4 separate regions of the Homo sapiens genome follow, and all the other regions are linked to region 1. The links are contacts of gene promoters, found by promoter capture Hi-C in blood cells and fetal thymus (Javierre and others, 2016). All regions are on one chromosome and are shown on one strand. The core of a region is centred on a gene start or on the middle of the fragment in contact, and the rest is flanking DNA. Distances in the headings are between cores, read along the strand shown. Region 1 holds the start of VEZF1 (vascular endothelial zinc finger 1). Region 2 overlaps AKAP1 (A-kinase anchoring protein 1). Region 3 has its middle 61 kb from the start of AKAP1. Region 4 overlaps MSI2 (musashi RNA binding protein 2).

Region 1 (5,066 bases), core at 1,166-3,665:
TGTCTTTTGACTGGACCCCAGTATATAGTCTGTGGAAGCTCACTTAAGGAGAGAGCTCCTTTTTGTTTGGTTAGAGAAATTTTCTGTCCTAAAAGTAGAAATAGCCCCTTCTAGGTAAGGATGGAGCATTTGATCATACTGGTTTCATTATATTCCTCTAACAGTTGGAACCGATTGTTTTTGAGTACTTGTTTCAAACTTCTGAGTATTTTCCTTCTGGAAAATAGCTCAGTGTTTAAAATTTACATGAACTTAAAAGGTTAATTTTTTTTTAAAGAATGTTTGAGGAGCAATCAATTCTGATTTTGTCTTATGGATAGAAATAGAATTAGCCATTTTCCTCAAGAAAAGTGATTCTTCTGAATCTTAGCTTTTCAGTAATGAGAACTGGACTGTTTCCACTTGACCTCTATTTCCTGTTAGTGGGAAACCGCTTCCCAGAGGTGCTGTGTGAAAGATTGCTGGGGAAAGGGTTTCTAGATCCCAGCATAACAAGTTCAAGAGTCCAGCGATATTGTCATTAGAATAATGGTCTTCATTAAGTACTAGTTTTCATAATCCTGAAGCTTCATTTTCACCAATTTGAAAGGCAGCTAGGGAGGAGAAGACTATGCAGGGAAGGAGGAAAACTCTGGAGTGCATCACAGAGACCTTGAGTGAGTTAAGGCAGGGAAGAAGCAGATTTGCTATCCACTGAATGAAAATAAGAAGAATTCCATTGTCCAAGGTCAGAGCAAGAACACAAAGGTTTTAGTTTACTTAGTTAATTCCTTAGGTTTGGACATTACAGGAGACATGGGGGTGACCATAGCAATTTAGCTGATAAATGTATCAGAAACTCTTTCATCATTTTCTGTCCCCTCCTATCTTAGGCTGACCGGTTCCCTGATGTGTTACCTGCTTCTGCTACTGATCCAAACTGCAGAACTTCTCATTCATCCCCAAGGCCTCCAGGCAGTATCCAATGGGGAATCAGCTCTAAAAGGAACCAGACCAACGTTTTCCAGCCCCTTCATTCTGGTGACTGAGGGGAGGAAAGAATGGGAGGGGGTATTCTTGTCTAGTGGATGGAAAGGAAACACACTGTCAAATTACTATATCTCCTTGGTTTTCTATTACAGTAGAATTCTCCAGCCATATTTTTATTGTCTATGGGGGAAGTTGGAGATGGTGACCTTGATTAGAAGTGTCTGGAGGGGGATAAATGGAGGGGATAAGATTCAGTTGGTTTTGGAAAATGTTAAAGTCTTAAAATAATGCGTCCATCTGAAGAATTTTTTCTAAAACCAGAGTTTATAAAAATATCACTGATACAGCCTGCCCCCTCATTTCCCTGCCACAGGAGATGTCTTGGACTAGAGACACTTGTTTAATAATAGCTTGTCTCTGATATTCCCAGTAGCTTCCCTCTGTGTGAGGAAAGGATAGAAATGTTCAGGACATCATCATACAGGCTCCTCATCTACAAAGTTCCAGTAGCAGTGACGCCTACACGGAAGACTTGGAACTGCAAACAGGCTGGGGTCACCTCAGTGACATCTGACGCTGTCCAACCAGAAGTTCGATTTTTGTTCTGGGGGTGAAGGAGGAAACAGACTGTACTAAAGGACTAAAATAATTTGTCTATACTATCTCACTTGTTTTTATTTTTGGCGGGAGAGGAGGGGTGTTGGGATAGAATTTCACATCCTATCTTGGAGTGAAGGGGAGGATGGGGAGGCTCAGCCCTTCACCCAAGAATAACCCAGTAATGACATCTCTACGCGTGGGAAGTGTTTCCCTCCACACTGAGAGGATCTGAGGCTGCACCCCAGTGGGATTCCCTGCTTGAGTTGGAAGGCCATCTCGCCATGAGATGCATATCATAGCGAGAGCGCAGAGGGCTTAGCCGGCCGGGGAGGAAATGCCAAAAGGAAGAGAGGCTCGAAGTCGAAAGGGCTTCCCCCAGTTTGGAGGTGGGGACCATGCTGTGCATGAGCGACTGAAGAGCCGAGTGTCCGCCGTGGCCTGTGCCCTCCGCTGAGGGTCTAACAGGGACGCGACGGTGCTGGACACCGTGTCTGAGTCACGGGAGACGGCCCAGCTGTGCCCAGCGGGCCAGCGCCAGACCCTGGCGTCCTCCATCTTCTCTCCTGAGCTCCCCCTGCTCCAGCTGCCTGAGCCACGGACCGCAGCACCACACACCCCCGCGGGGGGGGACGCCGCGCCCCATCCCCGCCCCGGGCCCCACCCCAGCCCCCCCGCGGGGGCCCTGACCCCACCGCCAGCGGGCACTGGCTGAGCTCCGAGGCGGCGAGCCGGCAGCGGGGACGCCCAGAGGGGGTCCGGGCGACTGGGGGCGGCGGCGGCCGGGCCGGGGCTCCCCCCCCGCCCGCGCTCGCCGCCGCGGTGGTGCGTCCCGGAGGTTACCGGAAGTGGCCGCGCTCGGCGCTGCCATGTTGAGGAGCCGCCGCTGCCGTTGCCGCCGCCGCCGCCGCCGCTTTGTTGTCGCCTCCTCCGGCTGAGGAGGCTCCCCGAGCGGGGGGAGTGGGGAGGAGGGGGGTCGGCCGCCGCAGCCATGGAGGCCAACTGGACCGCGTTCCTGTTCCAGGTACTGGGGGCCCCCCCGGGGGGGCACGGGGGGGACAGGGGGGCCGGGCCCCGGGCTGGCGGGCGGGCGGGCGCTCCTCCTCCCCTCCCTCCCGGCTCCGCTCTCCGGCCCGGCCTTAATCCCCCTTTGTTTTTCCGCCCGCCCGCCCCGGCGAAGCGGGGCTGCTGAGGTGAAAGGAGGCGGCCTCACGGGGTGCGGGGGAGATAGCAGGCCGCGGGGTGAACCCGGGGGCCCCCCAGCACACACACGCACACACACACACTCACACACACCCTTCCCTCTCGCTCTGAAGGGGAAGGGAGGAGGCCGGTCGCTGTCACCACCCCGCGGCCCAGAGAAAGGAGGGCGCCGGGCCGCTGGATAGCGCGGGCTGCTGGGCCATTGCGTGCCGGCCCGGTCCCCCACGGTGGGGTGAGGAGGTCCCCAGGTCCTGCCCTGAGTCTCCTCCCCGCCACTTCATCCATCTTTCGCTTGTTCTCTTTTCACCTTCCTCGTCTTTTTGTGTGTGTGCGTGCGTGTGTTGACTTTCTGACCCCCTCCCGTGTCCCCGCGAATAGCGGGTATCCCCAGGTTCCCCGCCACTCCCCCTCACCGCCACCACCCCTCTCGTGTTTACCCAGTTGGGGGGGCGGATGTTGTGAGTGTGTATCCCCTCCCCAAACTTTTTCACTGGATTTACATTTTTTTTTCCCAAGTCTCAGCCGAGCCTTGGCAGCTGACACCTTCTCCCTCTGTCCAGCTCTCCCGCCGTCCCATTCAGCCTGGGGAATCCCCCAGCCGGGCCGGCCCGGGGCAGGCGGGGAGCGGTGGGGGCCGGGACTCCTGGAGGCCCGACCTTCTCCCGAAGCGCTTTTCTTTCTCGCCCACCTCGAACGTTTCCTCCAACCAAGTGGAGAGAGCAAACAAAGTCCGCTTACAAAGCCCCCAGATGAGTCACTCTCTGGGATGTTGGTCTTCGCTTTTTTGCAAGAAACTTGAAAGTGACTGTAGCCGATGTGTTTTGGCAATTCTCTTGCCCGCCCACTTTAGATGGGGGACCCCTGTTTGGCAGATCTAGGCTGGAACTTATTTTTTTCCTACTTCGTTTCTGTTTGCAAAACGAAGCATTCAGTGGGCAGTAGCGATGAGCTCACGGGGAAACTTCGGAACTGGAGGAGGTTAGGAAGCTCGTCACTTTTAAGTGCGTTCTTCCCGCCTCTCTGAGTTATTTTCCTTTGAATACTTCGTGAAATCCCAAACGCGTAGCTGGGGCGCTTGATACCTTTTGAAACTAACAGGAACGGATGCAGAATTTTCAAAAAATTATTCTCCCAGCCACTGGATTCATCCTAGTGGAGTTAATATAGAGAATTGGATAACTCAGAAATTACCTACTGTGTAGACTGGCCTGTTGTTTTAAGACATATTTTTTCAAATGTGGGCAATTTGATCTTTAAGTAGTTATGGAAATATATTTGGGCTTCTTAAAATCTAAAATACCCAACATTATGGAATTCATGAACTTCCCCCTTTTCTCATTCTGATCAGTGTTGTTTTATTGTACTTTGATGAGCTTGCTAATAATGTGATAAACCAACTTGAAAATGCATTGGAAAAGAAATGATATATAACTAGCATGCATCCAGGTTGGTGTAAAGGTGGCAAATACTTTCCCCAGAAAAAAGCTCAAATGGTTATTTTAAAATATGGGATTGATGTGCCACTGAAGTGATTTTCGTGTGATTAAAAACCATATTAAGCATGGTGTCTATAGAGATTGAAAAAAAAAAGTGTTCTTCATGTAAAGGAAAAACCCATAACACATCTTTGGAAAGCTGGTTGAAAAATCTTTTGAAATACTTTTTTAAAGATTATTTTTCTCCTGGGTAAAACAAATGCCAAGCGTTTATTGATCAACTTTTTAATTAGATTTTATATTATTTAATTTTTTTCAGCTATTAAAATCTTTTTTTCCACCTGATGGAGAAGTGTGAAAACAAATATTTAATCCTGGGCTTGGCAATGTGTGCAGTGAAATTTGTTGGAAAACTTAAAATTTAGAGCCGAGAGCAGTTGAATGGGTAAAGAGAATATTTCAGTCTTTTCTATGGAAAGGTATGAATAGACTTAATCAGTTCTGGTTTTAAGTAATTTTCACTGGGGATATGGAGTTAAATTATCTTGTTTGTTTCCTGGAGCATCCTGTTGAATTTATATTTTGAAACAATTTAATACCTGCTTGCTTTCCAGATAACTTGGTGGAAAGTGAAAGCTATAGCTATTAAAATGTTTGATGGATGATTCTTCTAACAGGACATTCAAGATGTGACTCACCGATGTTAATTTGTTCAGTACAAAATCTTTTACCCTCTGGCACTGGAGATTTCATGGTGCCATATCCTACTACCCTGGGTGATGAAATAACATTTCTGTTTTGTTTCTTGCCAGCCCCAGGAAAAGGAAAGCTTGGGCAGGGTTAAAAAGCCTTGCAGTTGAA
Region 2 (5,066 bases), core at 2,040-4,539, 900 kb after region 1:
GAAAAGGAGAGAAGAAAGGGTGGCCTAGGGAACCAGCAAGCTTGCTGGTCAAACTGCTTTTTCATCCCTCTTCAGCTTCTGTGTCATCACAGTAAAGAATTCTCACCGGGGGTCTATGGCCATGCCTCCTTTCATGTTTGCATTTTGGTTTAAGCCAGAGGAATCAGACTGCCCACCAATCCACACTATTAGAGAGTTTTTAAGTGTCCATTTAGTGGCCAGCCTTTAGGCTGGGCAACTTCACACAAAAATGAAGTTATGGGGCCAGGCACGGTGGCTCACACCTGTAATCTCAGCACTTTGGGAGACCAACATGGAATGATCACTTGAGCCTAGGAGTCTTGAAATGGGTCTGGGCAAGGTGATGAGACCCCATCACTACAAAAAAAATTTTTTTAACTAGCCAGGCATCATGATGTGCACCTATAGTCCCGGGTACTTGGGAGGCTGAGGCAGGAGGATCCCTTGAACCCAGGAATTCAAGGCAGCAGTGAGCTATGATCGAGCCACTGTACTCTAGCCTGGGTGACAAAGCAAGACCTCATCTCTAAATAAATAAATAAATAAATAAATAATGTTTTTAATGGGGTTATGTGGTTTCCTGAAAAATTGCCTGCTGGGGCAACAAGGGGTCCTCACTCCCCAGGCAGCAGTCTGACACCTAGCTCCCCAGCTCCCCAGCTCCCCGGGCTGCCTCAGTCACATGCCTGCCTGCACCAGGAGGCAGGCTGGGCCCCTGCCACAGATCCAGAATAGAAAAGGCAGCCCTGGAGACCTCTTAAGCAGCCACCCCCTCCACACACCCCTTGGCAGCTTCCAGGGTGGCTTTATTCTCCTCTCTCTCCTGACGAGGCGGTGGCAGCAGAGACAGCAGCAGCTTTGGCACCAGGACCTGTCCCGTACACTGCAGCCACATGCACTTGGCCCTCCTAAAGGATGCCACCTGCTAAAAATAGCACCAGCACATGCTTGGCCAGGTGAGCCACACCAAAGCCAAAGGACAAAGCAGGGAGGTTATTTGCAGCACGGCCTTTTCTCCCAGAGACAGCTAAAGGCACAGCTGAGTGTGGGTCTCCCTCCAAGGCAGTTCAGGAAAGTGAGAATCACTCCTGCTCCTTTTTCTTGGGAGTGGCAGAAAGGAGGGGCAAGAAGGAGTGTACAGAAGACTGAACTGTCCTTCAGATCTGTCATCGACCCAACCTCACAAAGGCACATCCAGGCCCAGGCCAGAGAAGGGATGGGGGCTGGGGCTGTGCTTGAAAAGATCTTACTGCCTCCTCTAATCAGGAGGCCAGCTACTGCTGGGTGACAGCCTTTGGAGGGCCAGGAGATGGTCTGTGACCTCCAAGTGAGGTCTGACAGGTGTCGGGAAATTAGTGACTTCAGGATTGTCTTTTTCAATCAGCTCAGTCTTCAGAGCAGTTTCCCTGAGCCCTCAGGCACAGCTTTTTTTATTCATAGTCATTACTTGTGCATTTCAAAAGCACCCGATGGTTGCATAATTCTGATGATAAAATATGGCTTTGGAAAGACAAGAGAGTTAAGAGTAGGATCCTGTACTTCAGTTTCCCATAAAATGAAGATGTTCTGTAATAGGGAATATCTCCCTCACAGAGTTGTAACGAGGCTGAACACACTTAAGTCAGACTCCATATGTGGGATCAATGATTTTAATCTTTGTAAAACCCAGTTTAGTTTCCTGAATGAGGATGTGGTGATAAAGGGGCAGTAAATAAGCAACAACCAATGAGCATGGGGGGCGGCAGGGGCAGAGGAGGAGGTGGGGAGCACGCCCCAGCCCAGGTCCAAGCCAGTCCAGCCCTTGCTGTGTCCAGGGACCAGTTTACTCTACTCGGATCTTGTTTCTTCACCCACAAACTAATCACTGTACTAACCTCATAGGGCTGACAGAGAATAAAAATGACACAGAAAAAAAAAAGCCACTAATATGCCAGTAGGTGCTCATCAGTAAGTGTCCTTTATGCTGCCTGGCTCCAAGAAAAGAGATCTCACATTATATATACCAAAGGTCAATCTAGCAGGGTTCAAACAAAGCACACCCAGGACTAGAAGAGGGGGCATCTGGAAACAAAGAACTCCCCACCCCTGCCACAACAGAACACGTTAGCATCCACGCTGTGGCCCCACTCTCCCCCAACACCTTCTGTGAAGAATGGCCCCTAACATTTAGGTGGACTGGAAACAGCAGAATGAAAACACAACCTCGTTTAAGAGAAGGGCCGCACTGAGATCTGTAGGAAGTCATCAGGTGGGTGAAGGACCAAGTAACAATATGTTGACATCTGACATTTGGAGACCAAGGACAAACCAGCAGGGATCTTTATGATAATAAACGGCTTCAAACCAAAAGGGCTTTCTAAGGGCTTAGCATCTGGACCTTTGCTTCACGCTCCTGTCCCCAGGTCCTTTCTGAAGGTCCTCACTCAAACTGTTTCAAAACTGTTCGTCCACTCCCAACTGGCAGACTAGAACTCACTTGTAGTATGCCATGGAGACAACCAGTAGATAATTTGTCACCAAAGCTGTTGGGTTTATGGACTCTGGAAGACTAAGCTCAAACATGTTATGCTTTAGAGATTTACAAGTTGAGACAATTAAGCTTTTAGAGTTGGAGAAAAAAAAACTTTCTAGGCCGGCGCTGTCCAACAAAACTTTCTTCGATTATGGAAAATGTTCTTGACCTGTACTGACCAGGACGGCAGCCACTAGCTACACGAGGCCACTGAGAACCTGAAATGTGGCTAATGTCACTAAGAAATTTTTTTAAAAATACTTTGAAAAGTTTAATTAGTCACACAGCTAGCAGCTACCCTACAGACAAGGCAGCTCTAAACTCCCCACACCCAGGACAAATTTAGGCAAATAAAGCTATCTTTAAAAATAAAAAATATTTAGAACAGTAGCACACCTTAGAGCTAAGAACTTGAGATGAACAGTGAGTTGTTTTTTTTCCCCTTAAGTCTTTGACATGTACTACCCATTGAGCTGTGCTCCCCAGCCCAAACACATCACTCCAGTGGCCCCTGGGCACGTTTGGTCTAACTCCAAGGCTCCCAGGACCATAATCTGAATACTGATAATTTTGACCAAACCTCTTTTAGCCACTGAATAAACCAAGATCTGGAAGGCCAACCAGCCTGCCTAGAATCACCGCCAGGTTTCAGCTCTGAGAGCTGCAGCAAGTCCCAGGCTCTTGTCAGCTAAGCCCAGCAGTGAAACAAGCCTCATCAGCCCTAGGTTATACATATTTTTACTTCCAGGACTCACCTCAGGGCCCTTCTTTGCTCCCAAGTGCAACTGGGCCTTAGTGACACCTGGCTCGGTGAACACAACCAGCCACCATTACAGAACAGGGAACACAATGTTTACCACTGACTGCTGCAAACTATCAAACCAAGCCGGAAAAACAACCAGATGGTGAAGACCCGGACAGAATGTGGACAAGGCTGCACCATTTAGTAAAATGAAAAAGTTAAGGCAAAGGACACCTTGAAAGCTATTTATTGCTGGAAAGCTAGTTCTCAGAATGCTGAATGATAACACACACAATGTTAACAATCTACTTAGAAAGCAGCAGAAAGATTAGGAGAAAAGCCCAGGGATTTAAGAATATTCCTTGGTTCTTCTCACAAAAGCCATCCAGAGGACCTAGTTTTAACTCCACACCCACGCTTCCTAGTTCCTCTACCCCTCAATTTGAATTTGTGTGACAGCCACTGAAACAATCCAGAATGACCTCCAGCTTCACCCTCACTGTTCTCAGAGGTGTGAGGATTAAAGGATTAGTGTGCTCATAACTCACCTAGCACAGTAACTATCAAGAAAGAGGCATCCTCTCAAGTTTAGCTCCCAGCTCCCCCACTACCTGTTTCTCCAGCCAGACTCTGTCCTACTTCAAACATGCTCACTGATGATGTTTTCCACAGCCCAAGCTTCAAATTAGGTACCAAGGCCAGGAGGTTCCTTCAGTGGGATGCCACATGTGATGGGAACTTAATGTTAAATGATCATAAAAGTGAAAACTGCCTGAGGTATTACACCAGGAAGGAACATGGAAGAAACAGAACTTGCCCTAAGAAGCAAGATTTAGGACTAAAATACACCCCCCACCATAAAGATGAGCAACTCTCAAACAGTATATGAGATGATTTCAATGGGACAAGATGCCCACAGGATCTACTACCTCCCCATAGTGGAAGAAAACGCCTGAGAATGACAAGCTGAAGGTATTAACTCATACCTGAAACAACTGACTTCCCCACAATAGGAAAACAGACCAAGCTACAGAAAGGCCCAATCATTCAGACTCACAGGGAAGATTAGGAAGGAGTGACCTAGGGGAACTCTACGGCCAGCTCTCTGGGTACATTGGCTACAAGCTGCCTGCTCTTCAAAGCCCTGAAATGCACACACAATCAAGTCATGTTGCAGGCTGGGAGCAGGAGGCTAGCCAGCAAAGCTTAGGGAAACCAATTCGTTTTTCCTCCCAAACAAGCTTCTGGGTCAGAGGCTAAGGAGAGGGGTGCTTTTAATAGAATTCAAGTCACTCAAGTAATTCAAGAGAAACAAAGTCAGTCTCAGGGATTGTTCAGGGAGGAGAGGGGAAGAGCAATGCTTAAGCACCTATCACAGTCCCCAGTATCACAAATATGATCTCCATTTGTCTTTAGGACAGGAAAAGGGAATACTGTAGAGGCTAACACCAGCCTTCCCCTAAAATATGGCTGCAACCCAGCCTATGTCCAAAGCTCAAGAATAATTTGGGTTACCAGGCAGCAAGATAAATTGCTTTTAAATATTGATGTTCAGCAACCTTACACTGGAGACATATCGACTTCAGCACCTGAGCAGGCCACTTACAACAGACACCTCCACTGTCACCCTGCAGTGGCCAAGTGAGAATGCATTTCCTAGAAACAACTGGGAGATGGGAGAGATATTCCTACAAGGAACTAGACCTAGACACAAATCCATTAGACCTGTCTCACTCATTGGCTAGGATCTGTTACCTGCAAGTTCTGAGCCATCATCTGACAACATGCATG
Region 3 (5,066 bases), core at 1,148-3,647, 840 kb after region 1:
AATGAAAACTAAAAAATAATTATATTCTATAGGGAAAAACTCTCTCCAGCCACATTTTTCCTCAGCTGTCACACCACAGCAATCAACACAGAATTTTTATGACCAAAGGTATGTGTGTTTCTTCCCCACACACCAAGCAGCGGACCCCAGGGGGGTGTCCTCCAATTCAGTTCAGACACTACGATAGCGTCAGCTCCCACAGGCTGAGGGCTTAGTCCCCGTGACTGCCCTCCAGCACACACCAGTGGCAAGTCCAGGCCTCTGAAACTTCTGACTGATTGGCTTCACAATTGCCCCCACCACCCTCTTTGTGTTCAATTAATTTGCTGGAGCAGCTCACAGAACTCAGGGGAACACTCGCATTTACCAGTTCATTATGAGGAATATCGCAGCCAGGCACAGTGGCTCACGCCTGTAATCCAAGCACGTTGGGAGGCCAAGGTGGGCAGATCACTCGAGGCCAGGAGTTCGAGACCAGCCTGGCCAACATGGTGAAACCTCGTCTCTGCAAAAAATACAAAAATTAGCCAGGCGTGATGGCGCATGCCTGTAATCGCAGCTACTCAAGAGGCTGAGGTGGGAGGATGGCTTTAGCCCGGGAGGTAGAGGTTGCAGTGAGCCAAGATCACACCACTGCACTCCGGCCTGGGCACAGAGCAAGACTCTGTCTCCAAAAAAGGATATTGCAAAGGATACAGATGAAGAGATGCATAGGGTATAGGAGAAAGGGCGTGGAGCTTCCATCCCCTCCCTGGGATACCAGGCTTCACACGTTCAGCTATCCGGGAGCTCCCCCAACCCAGTCCTCTTGGGTATTTATGGAAGTTTCAAAGCATTTTCCCCCCAGGGTACAGGGTGGGACCCTCTCTGAAGAAAGCCTTAAGACCCACAATCAGAAAGGCAGGGGAAGTTGAGGCTGGGTATAGTGGTTCATACCAGTGATCCCAACACTTTGTGAGGCTGAGGCGGGCGGATCACCTGAGATCAAGAGTTCAAGACTAGACTGGCCAACATGGTGAAACTGTGTCTCTACTAAAAATACAAAAATTAGCTAGCCATGGTGGTGGGCACCTGTAATTCCAGCTACTCAGGAGGCTGAGGCAGGAGAATTACTTGAACCCAGGAGGCAGAGGTTGGAGTGAGCTGAGATTGCGCCACTACACTCCAGCCTGGGTGACAAAGCGAGACTCCATCTCAATAAAAAAAGAAAATGAGAGTCCTATCTTGAGTTAGGTGAATGGAGGGCAAGAGAGAGATTCTGTTTCCTGAAGCCTGCCCCTGAGGCCTAATACACCCAACATTATAAGTAAAGGCTGTAACAGGGGCTATGGGAGATATGAAGCAGAAGCCGTGGACAACAGCCCATCTATATCATAACACCACGTATTCCATTACCGGGTTCTACTGTGTATGTGAGCTGGGAATGAATAAATCCAGTAACTGTCTTGGGAAAAGCACATTTATATTGCATCTTATTTGTTTTTATAATAATGGCCTTGATTTTAAACATGCACACATTTGAAGCACACCACAATTTTTGCAATCCGTTTTGACATTTCTCCATTGTTTAATAAACCAAAGCTTAAAGAAAGGACAATGTTCTGGCCCTCTCTGAACCTCCAGGAGGCCCCATCATGAACATAGCCACAGGATGGGCAGAGACAGGGAGGAGTCCAGAGGGGCTGTGTTCTCCACAAGACACAGCCTGGAGGTGGGGTGGGGCTTCGCCAAGTGCCAGCCCTCGGGGGCACCGATGAGGCAGAAGATGGGCTGGGGCACCCAGTCTTGGCTTGAGCCCTCTCTGCCTGCTGCTCAGAAGGAACCTGCAGCAACCCAAGCTTTCTAAAGCCCAGGCTGTGCCATTCTTTTTCATAGCTGTCAGGGCGGTATAAAGCACATTGCCTGGGCCAAGGTGCTTTTGTCCCCCTGGAAAAGAGGGCTGGAAGCTGGAAGACAGCCAGGGAACTGCCCAAAGGGGTAGTCAGGGCCAGCTTCCTGGGCATCTGTCCTGTGCAGTCACACAGGGCCTCATACTGAGAAGGGCTCCACAGTTGGTTAATACTCTGCCGTCACAGTCTTAACACTTTTTTTTTTTTTTTTTTTGAGACGGAGTTTCACTCTTGTTGCCCAGGCTGGAGTGCAATGGCGCGATCTTGGCTCACTGAAACCTCCAACTCTCGGGTTCAAGCGATTCTTCTGCCTCAGCCTCCTGAGTAGCTGGGATTACAGGCATGTGCCACCACACCTGGCTAAGTTTTGTATTTTTAGTAGAGACGGGGTTTCGCCATGTTGACCAGGCTGGTCTTGAACTCTTGACCTCAGGTGATCCACCTGCCTTGGCCTCTCAAAGTGCTAGGATTACAGGCGTGAGCCACCATGCCCGGCCTACATTATTTTTATTTTTAATTTTTTAGTTTTTTATATTTAAAAGATAGAGACGGAGGTCTCATTATGTTACCCAGGCTGGTCTTGAACTCCTGGGCTCAAGCGATCCTCCCACCTCAGCATCCCAAACTGCTTCAGCCACTGCACCCAGCAGTCTTAAAGTCTTAATCTTTGTTGAACAAGAGGCCCTGCAGTTTCATTCCCCTCCCACTCCCCACAAACGTAATGGTCAGTCCTGGAGTAGCAGACTGTGGCATTAATAGCCTATGTCTGGAGTCGGGGTTCTATTCCCAGCTCTGCCCCTTGCTGCCGGGGCATCTTGGTCAAGCCATTTAAGCTCCATGCCTCAGTGCCCTATCTGTAATATGGGGGTAACAGCTATACCCGTTCAGAAGATGTTAAGAGAATCAAATCAGCCTTCAGCTCCCAGCTTGGCACATTACAAAGTACTCAATGAAGCTCGGTGATTAGCGCTAAGATGATTGAGGGCGGATTACAGAGGCAGTACTCTTGCCTGGACCTGCCTCAGAAATGCCTTTTCTAAAGGCAGGAGCAAAAGAAAGAAGCTTTGGGATTAACTCTTCCAAAATAGCAAATGTTCTCTCTTCAGCATTAGGGCTAACACCAGTGGCATTATTACACCCCAGGAAAAATGTGTCCTCATCAAGTCACAAAAGCCTGGTTTCAACCCACAGAGGGAACAACAACAAAAACGTCTGAAATGCTGAAAAAGCCAAGAGCGTCGGGTACACGTTATCCAGCCCATCTTTGATTTGGGAGTTCACTGAAGCATGACTGATGCATGGTTATCTTGGGTCCTATATGTCTCTTCCGTAAATAGACTTTTGTTACAAGAAAAAAAATGGACTGACTTGGAAAAACAGAAAGAAACACAAGGAGCAGCGAGACTTTTTCCCTTCTCACAAAATGGACAGGTCTGAGAACTCCCAGGATCCTGGCTGTTCACAGATCAATTAACCTCCTGTAGCCTCAGTTTCTGCCCTTGTAAATGGGGAGTATGCAGGAGTGATGAGGAACACAGATTCTGGAGACAGACTCCCGGGGGCATCTTAACAATCTCACTTACCGGTTGTGTGGCCTGGGACACACACTAGGCTTCTGTGCTTCTGCTTCTACCTCCTGTAGAAGCTACAGTACCTACCTCCTGGGGTCGTTGGGAGGGTGAAGCAGGATAATATACATAAAGCGTAAGGAATGGTGCCTGGCCCAGAGTAAGTCCGCAATAAATGTTAGCTGCAGACCATGAACCTAAATCCCCCAGCTGCAGTTGTGCTGAATAATGGGAGAAGTAGTCGTAGCAGTTGTTGCTATTGTTATTTAAACTGCCGCAGGACCTCTGATCTTGTGACTTCAGGTTCCTTCTGCATATGCCTCCAAAATGTAGGAGACCCTTAAGGAGCATCAGCGATTGGTCAAGGCCTAGGGATAAGCTAAACTCAGATGAGATCTTCCCAACCTTCCCCACCCAGAGGACCATGATCATAGGCCTCAGAGTCATTTTAATGTCAGAGAAGAAAAGAACCAGCTGGGCGCAGTGGCTCACGCCTATAATCCCAACACTTTGGGAGTACGAGGCAGGCAGATTGCTTGAGCCCAGGAGTTCAAAACTAGCCTGAGTAACATGGCAAAGCCCTGTCTCTACTGAAAAAAAAAATGCAAAAATTAGACAGGCATGGTGGCACATGCCTGTAGTCCCAGTTACTCAGGAGGCTTAGGTGGGAGGATCACCTGAGCCCAGGAGGTCGAGGCTGCAGTGAGCCACTGCACTGCAGCCTGGGACACAGAGTGAGACTCAATCTCAAAAAAAAAAAAAAAAAAAAAAGAATCTTGTAGGTCAGCACGTCCACATTCCTCATTTATAGATGAGGAACTAAAGCTCAGAGAAGGCAAGTGACCTGCTCAAGGTCACACAGAACAGGAGCTGAGCTAGGAAGACAGCTCAGAGTTCATGACTTTGCACATCCGTTCCCTTCCTGTTCCCGCTTACAGCTTATTCTGTTGGAGTCCCTGGCCCCTCACAAGGTCCCCCGACCTCTCTATCTCCCAGGTGAGCATCTGTCAGGTTATGGACTCATCTAATTATTGGCCACATCCTACTAGAGACCCATTTTTCTTACTGAATCAGGCCACCATTAGGTCCTGAAAGCCCCATAAAGTCTTCTACGGATGAGCAGATCCTTTAATCTATTATTCCCGAGTCCTATTTATATATATTTATCCATATGGCTATATAAATAGGGCTTTGAGATGTATACGTGGCAGGTTATTGCTGTAGCATAGCTGTTCTCCCCAAGAGGAAAACAAAAATGATGTATGGCAGAAGCTCTTTTCCATGCAGAAAGCTCCTGTCTGATTTATTAAGAGTTAGGTTGCAGTCACATGCTCTGAAGTAGTGAATCTATTGCAAAGTTATCTAAGAGCAGGACACTCTCAGCTCCAGAAGCCAAAACAGCAAGTCTAGGGTGTGGCAAGAGCTCAAAGAATCTTACAGCAGTCACTCGCTAGGTACTTGCCATATCCCACGGTATTAACTAGGATTCCTTTGGTTGCAAGTTTAAGCAAAAAAGGGAAGCTTGTTATAAGGATATTGGGTGTCTCCAGGAACTCAAGGAGAGGCATGGGGCTGGGTCTCAAAATGGCTACAGATGCTTCTCTCTTAT
Region 4 (5,066 bases), core at 1,373-3,872, 730 kb after region 1:
AAACAACAACCGGAACAATGATGAGAAAACCGACAAGAAAAATAATGACAATGACGAAGACCTTTGTCGCAGACCATGCTCTTTTACTCTACACAAAAACCTTCTGGGAGAGCTATGTCATCACTCCTACTTTACAGATGAGCACACTGAGACTGAGAGAAGGTTAGGGACAACAGCCAAATGCCCCAGGAGATGGAATTCAGATGGAGATAATGAACAGCCAAGTCCTCCGTAAAGTGAAGTATGTCATACACAGTAAGGTGTTATTATTAAATCCCTAGAATTCATGGAAAGATGTTCTCCCCCAAGTGGTTTCATGTTAATTCACCTACAAACATTCCAGATGTGGAGTTGAGGGTTGGGAAAGGAATGCACACTTTGACAAGTTTGAGAAACATTCTGTCTCGTTTTCAAGTTGAATGCATCACTGCAGAGTGTATTAAAGTGAAATATTGCTTTTCTCATTTAAAAACAAAGTTAAGGAAGGGGGACAACAAAGGGGAGAGAAAAACAGGTCAAACCCATGGTTTTACCAAGTAAGGGATTTTTCCAGCTTCCCTCTTGGGTAATCTGATCCAAGCTCTGAGTGATCAAATGACTAACCTGGAAATTTGAAGATTCACACTTATGGAAGAAACAGCAATTCCTCCAAACCCAGGAAATACTGCTAACTCTGGGAAGCCCTCTGAAATGTGAAGGATCACAGACAGTTTGGGAAGTAACTAAAACAATAAGGGCAATTCCAAAGTTTGTGCTAAGTACAAAAATAACCTAATCATTAATTCCTATCATTTGCTTAAGCATTACAAAAAAATGCCTGAAGAAAATATTTCATTGTATTTACTTAAAAAGTTGTGTTTCCATCTTTAAAAAAGGGAGAAGAGAACAAGGAGGGAGGGAGAGAAAGAAGGAGGGAAGGAAGGAATCAATCAATCAAGTGGTATGCCCCAGACCTGAAATTCTCAAAGTACCATCACAATCACCAACTTTTTCTATACTAATGTGCAAAACCATTCCTCTCTTTACACGATTAAAAGGTTCCACTTCTGGGAGACTGTGCATAAAGAAATAAACTGAATTTGCTAAAGCCACAACCTTTTCCGACTTAGAAGCTTCAACTTTTCCCCTTTCCCTAAAAGAATGACAAATCCCGAAGATACATAAAAAGCATTTCTTCCAGTGCTACATAAGGAAGAAAAATAGTAACTAAAAAGTGTAAATGTAACATGTAAGCCATAAGCCCTTCCAATTTAACCTTAGGCTTCAAGCAACTGTGTTCTCATAGCCACACCTGGCAAGCTCAGTGAAAACTATGTTAACGACACACTTCTAAAAAAGTGAAGCCCTATCTCAATTCTTTAAGCAAGTCTTGTAGTGCCACTCCTACAAGGTTACAACATTTTCAGGACTTCTCCACCCAGGCACCAGCACTTGCACAAATAAGAAGCACTGTTGGTTTCAAGTATGCCCTGACTTATCCAACCAACCTAAAACCAAGATATCCACTGCTTGCCCTCCCAGATTTAAGGCTTTATGGGCCTAAGAAGTTGTCTTTTCCAAGAAAGGATCAGCTGTTTAGTCAAACTCTACTCCTCTGCATTAACTCCAAGTTGTAAAGCCTCAAAGAGTACCCTCCGAAAGAGTCACAAGGAAATGTTCGACTTTTCCTGATATGATATTGGAAATGCTTAAAAAACAAATAGAATCCTTGCAAAAAATACTGCAGTCGATGGAAACACGTCCTCCCACTAAGCATCAGACTTGTCCCTGCCCCCAGGTGGATGTTCAGAAGCCACCTTGGGATGGCTAACTTAGAGACGCATGGTTATCTCACAGGACTACTTGCCCAGCCTGTCCTGATACCCCGAAGGAACAGTGAATACCAGGCTTCAACAGTTCATGGCCAATGCTGTTTGAAATTTGAAATTCTTGGCAATCATCTCTGAGTGCTAAAATCCTACTGTTTATTCTCCTACTTACCTTGGGTTGCGCTCGACGAGGAAATGCAACTTTGGGGTCAATCTGGGAAAAAAAATAGAAAAGCAGGAGTCAATAAAGTACTTTAAGGAAAAAATATATGATTAATCACCTAATTATTAATCACTCATTTCTCAGGCTTATAATCCAGCTTTTAGTAACTTCTCAGGCAACTCAAAAGTTTCTTAAACTTTGATCTCAACTTTAACCATCCCTCCAACAGATCAGGTAACTAACATAGCTAGCTAGCCTTTCTGAAATGACCCACCATGCATTTCAGTGTGTGATGCTCTTAATAAACCAGATCTCATGTAATTCTTATTTAGGCAAGGGCTTCTTCTTCCAGACACTGAATATTAAATGGTATCTACATCTAATTTGCTATGCGTGGCTGGGAGAAAAGATGGGAGCATCATTATCATTGGGAAAAAAATCATAACCTGAAAATTAAATGTAAGTATTCTCTAGCAGTAGGTAATTGGATGGTATTTCTTCTCCCTGATGATAACTAAACAACACAGGAGGGAAAGGAGCTTCCAAAAATTTTTTAAATCAACAACATCCAAAAACTCCCCACAGACATCCAACACAGTGCTCTGCTTGAGTTAATTAATTCATTTTAGCAAAAGTAAAGTTACCCAGGATTAACCAAAAAGATCATCTGTTCTGTAGCTATACCTCAAAAGATAAAAAATAATTTTTTGAAGTAAAGAAAATGAAGCATGTGAGCTAAATCCACCTGGATTTTAAAAACAACAGGGAGTAAAAATCTATAAGCAACCTAAACCCAAATTAGAAAAGAAATCCCATCATGGGGAGGGCACCAAAAAAAAAAAAAAGTTACTGAATACAAGAAGTAGTCAGAATCTAGTGCAACAAGTAGGGAATTCCCCTACCCCAACCTCAATCCGAGTGGAAAAACATCCTCCAGTCCAAATCACACACTTGCAAAACGCATGATGCTCAATCAGGGTCTAGCTGTACAGCTCAGAACAGTTCTCCTGGAAGCATGTGAATCTAACAGGCTGATGTGAGGGAGGAAAAAAGTGACTGCACAGATAAAAAGAGGAGGAAAGAAATGTGAAAATATTCCCGTTGTCGGTTTTCATTGAATTTCTAAATGTCACAAATCTTTGGGTAAAAATGTAACACAGATAGTATAAACATGCTACCAGTTATTTATTTCCAGGCTTTGGCTTTCATATTAAAATGTTTTCCTTTTAAAAAGTAAATCTGAGCTTTGTTTTCACTTCTGCCATGAGAAGGAGCAGGGGAGAAAAGAGTAATGCTGTGGAGGAAAGTAGGGAGGTGGGGGTGGGGAGTGGGAAGCACGGAGGATAGTTCATTTGTTCCCTGACTTACATCACCTAGGGTCCCAGCCAGAAAGACATATGAGGATTTCCTGCTGTTATTACGGGGGCTTAAAGACCTAATAAAAGTCTGCATTGCATTCCCTACCTTTAAACATCACCTGAGAAATGAGAGATTACTTTTCAAAAACTAAAATAGACAAAAATCTCTGATCTAGAAAACTACCCTTTCATAAAGATTAACATTACTGCATCTACAGGTGTGTCCAGCACTGACTAGCGCTTGTCTACAAGAGAAATACAACAGGTGTGGATTTTCCATTCTGTTGACGTACGTAAGACAGAGGTGTCTTTTTATAAATACTCCCCAGAGGGTGTTTTTTTTAGTTGGCCGGCACACAATTGCAATCAGAAATCACCTTGTTTATGGGGTAACAGGTGTGGGGTATGTTGAGGGAGGTGCCAGGAGCTGGAAGAAGTAAGGTGCAATGAAGAAAGTGAAGTACTAAAGAAAATTTAAATCACAAAACGAAAAAGCCAATTCAGAACTCCTGGATGGTGTGTGGCCGTATCAGAGCATTATATCATGATCGAAGTTCCTCAGTGTGCAAAGTTTACACGCTGAGATCTCTGAAGGAGAGGAAGGGTCAAGTTAAGCATGGCAAATCCCAACCTTTTGCACATCCCTGTCAACTATTTTTTAAAAAACAAACAAAAAAGAAAACTACCAAAAATTAAAACATTAGTTAGTTAGGTACAGCTCTACTTACTGTATCTACAAGTCCTCTAGGAAAAGACTAGGGTACTATTTTGGATGTGAATGGCCGTTACCTAAACAAAGCTTTTAAGGTAACAGTAAACAAGATCCTCGTTTCCATGTCAATAAACCAACCGCTTCTGCCTCCTGCACTGAACGTTGAAACAAAGTCAAAAGCTAGGTTACACTAAATAATAGTGACCAAAACATGTCTATAAACAATCAGAGAGGGAAACTGCAGGCTTTGCACCTGATACAGAGGAATATGACCCACCAGCCACCACAGAAACCAAATACTGTTTCTCCCACCCAGGTAGCAAGAGGGGGTGGATGATAAATTCCCAAATTTGCCTTGAAAAGATTTTCCTCTTTAATTTCACTAGCTTTTTGAAATGGCTAGCCACGAAATCAAGGAGAGAAAAATTTTTCAGACATCTGTTATCATCCTACAAATCATTTCTGAAATTAAATTATCTAAAAGTACAAAAGGCTGGGCTGCATGCAAGCTATGACAAGTCCAGGACAATTAATAAAGCAACTAAGAGTGTAGGTGGGTTTCTTTCTTAGGAGAAGGCACGCATTCCTGATCTCTTTGATCAGAGAAAGAGGGTGAATTTGCAAAATCAATTCAAGTGCACCGAAGGTTGCCAGGTTTCTTTATTTGCTTTCCTTCTCTTCCATTCAATGTTAAAGCCAAAAGGGGCTTGAAAGATCACCTTGGTCCACTTATTTTACAGAAGAGGAAATTGAGACCCAGAGGTAGGGAATGTCTTGCTCACTTTCATAAGAGGCGGATGGAAGTAGAGCCCCATTTCTGGCCTTGTCCCACTACCCCATCACAGAGGAGTGAAGTTCCATGCAACCCAGCACTACAGCCCAATGTCATCTTAAGGCCTCTGTTTGGGGCAGATATATATTAATAAAAACCGTGGGGAAACTCTGGTAGACATAAAGGGAAGGGAGGAGAGGCAGGAAGCCCACACAGGGGCTAAATAAAACACTGCACACTCCCCCTCCCATTA

Evidence for each region. Contacts are between HindIII fragments. The CHiCAGO score rates a contact against its expected background, and 5 or more counts as called.
Region 2: a contact is called between a fragment that was not itself captured here and the fragment with the promoter of VEZF1 in region 1, in 1 of 17 cell types (fetal thymus). The highest score is 6.4, in fetal thymus.
Region 3: a contact is called between a fragment that was not itself captured here and the fragment with the promoter of VEZF1 in region 1, in 1 of 17 cell types (M0 macrophages). The highest score is 5.3, in M0 macrophages.
Region 4: a contact is called between a fragment that was not itself captured here and the fragment with the promoter of VEZF1 in region 1, in 2 of 17 cell types (naive CD8 T cells and naive CD4 T cells). The highest score is 5.6, in naive CD8 T cells.

Annotation. Positions count from the first base shown.
Region 1 is chr17:57,985,603-57,990,668 of GRCh38, reverse strand. It overlaps VEZF1 (vascular endothelial zinc finger 1), which reads left to right and starts at 2,415. Exons shown (of 6, transcript NM_007146.3): 1 at 2,415-2,590. The coding sequence starts at 2,558. It overlaps LOC101929185 (a long non-coding RNA gene), which reads right to left and starts at 2,559. Exons shown (of 1, transcript XR_001752716.3): 1 at 1-2,559. It also overlaps a transcript of SRSF1 not described here. RefSeq lists enhancers at 1,813-1,952, 1,973-2,022 and silencers at 2,173-2,452, 2,523-3,002, 3,083-3,152. The HindIII fragment of the contact is 4,468 bases long and covers 569-5,036 here.
Region 2 is chr17:57,087,189-57,092,254 of GRCh38, reverse strand. The region is part of intron 1 of AKAP1 (A-kinase anchoring protein 1); the gene reads right to left. Among named protein-coding and RNA genes, the nearest start is that of AKAP1, 4.5 kb to the right of the region's middle. RefSeq lists an enhancer at 294-843. The HindIII fragment of the contact is 1,333 bases long and covers 2,623-3,955 here.
Region 3 is chr17:57,143,363-57,148,428 of GRCh38, reverse strand. No RefSeq gene overlaps it. Among named protein-coding and RNA genes, the nearest start is that of AKAP1, 61 kb to the right of the region's middle. The HindIII fragment of the contact is 1,113 bases long and covers 1,841-2,953 here.
Region 4 is chr17:57,259,107-57,264,172 of GRCh38, reverse strand. MSI2 (musashi RNA binding protein 2) reads right to left here. Exons shown (of 14, transcript NM_138962.4): 5 at 1,981-2,022. Among named protein-coding and RNA genes, the nearest start is that of MSI2, 5.1 kb to the right of the region's middle. RefSeq lists an enhancer at 3,888-4,411. The HindIII fragment of the contact is 3,016 bases long and covers 1,115-4,130 here.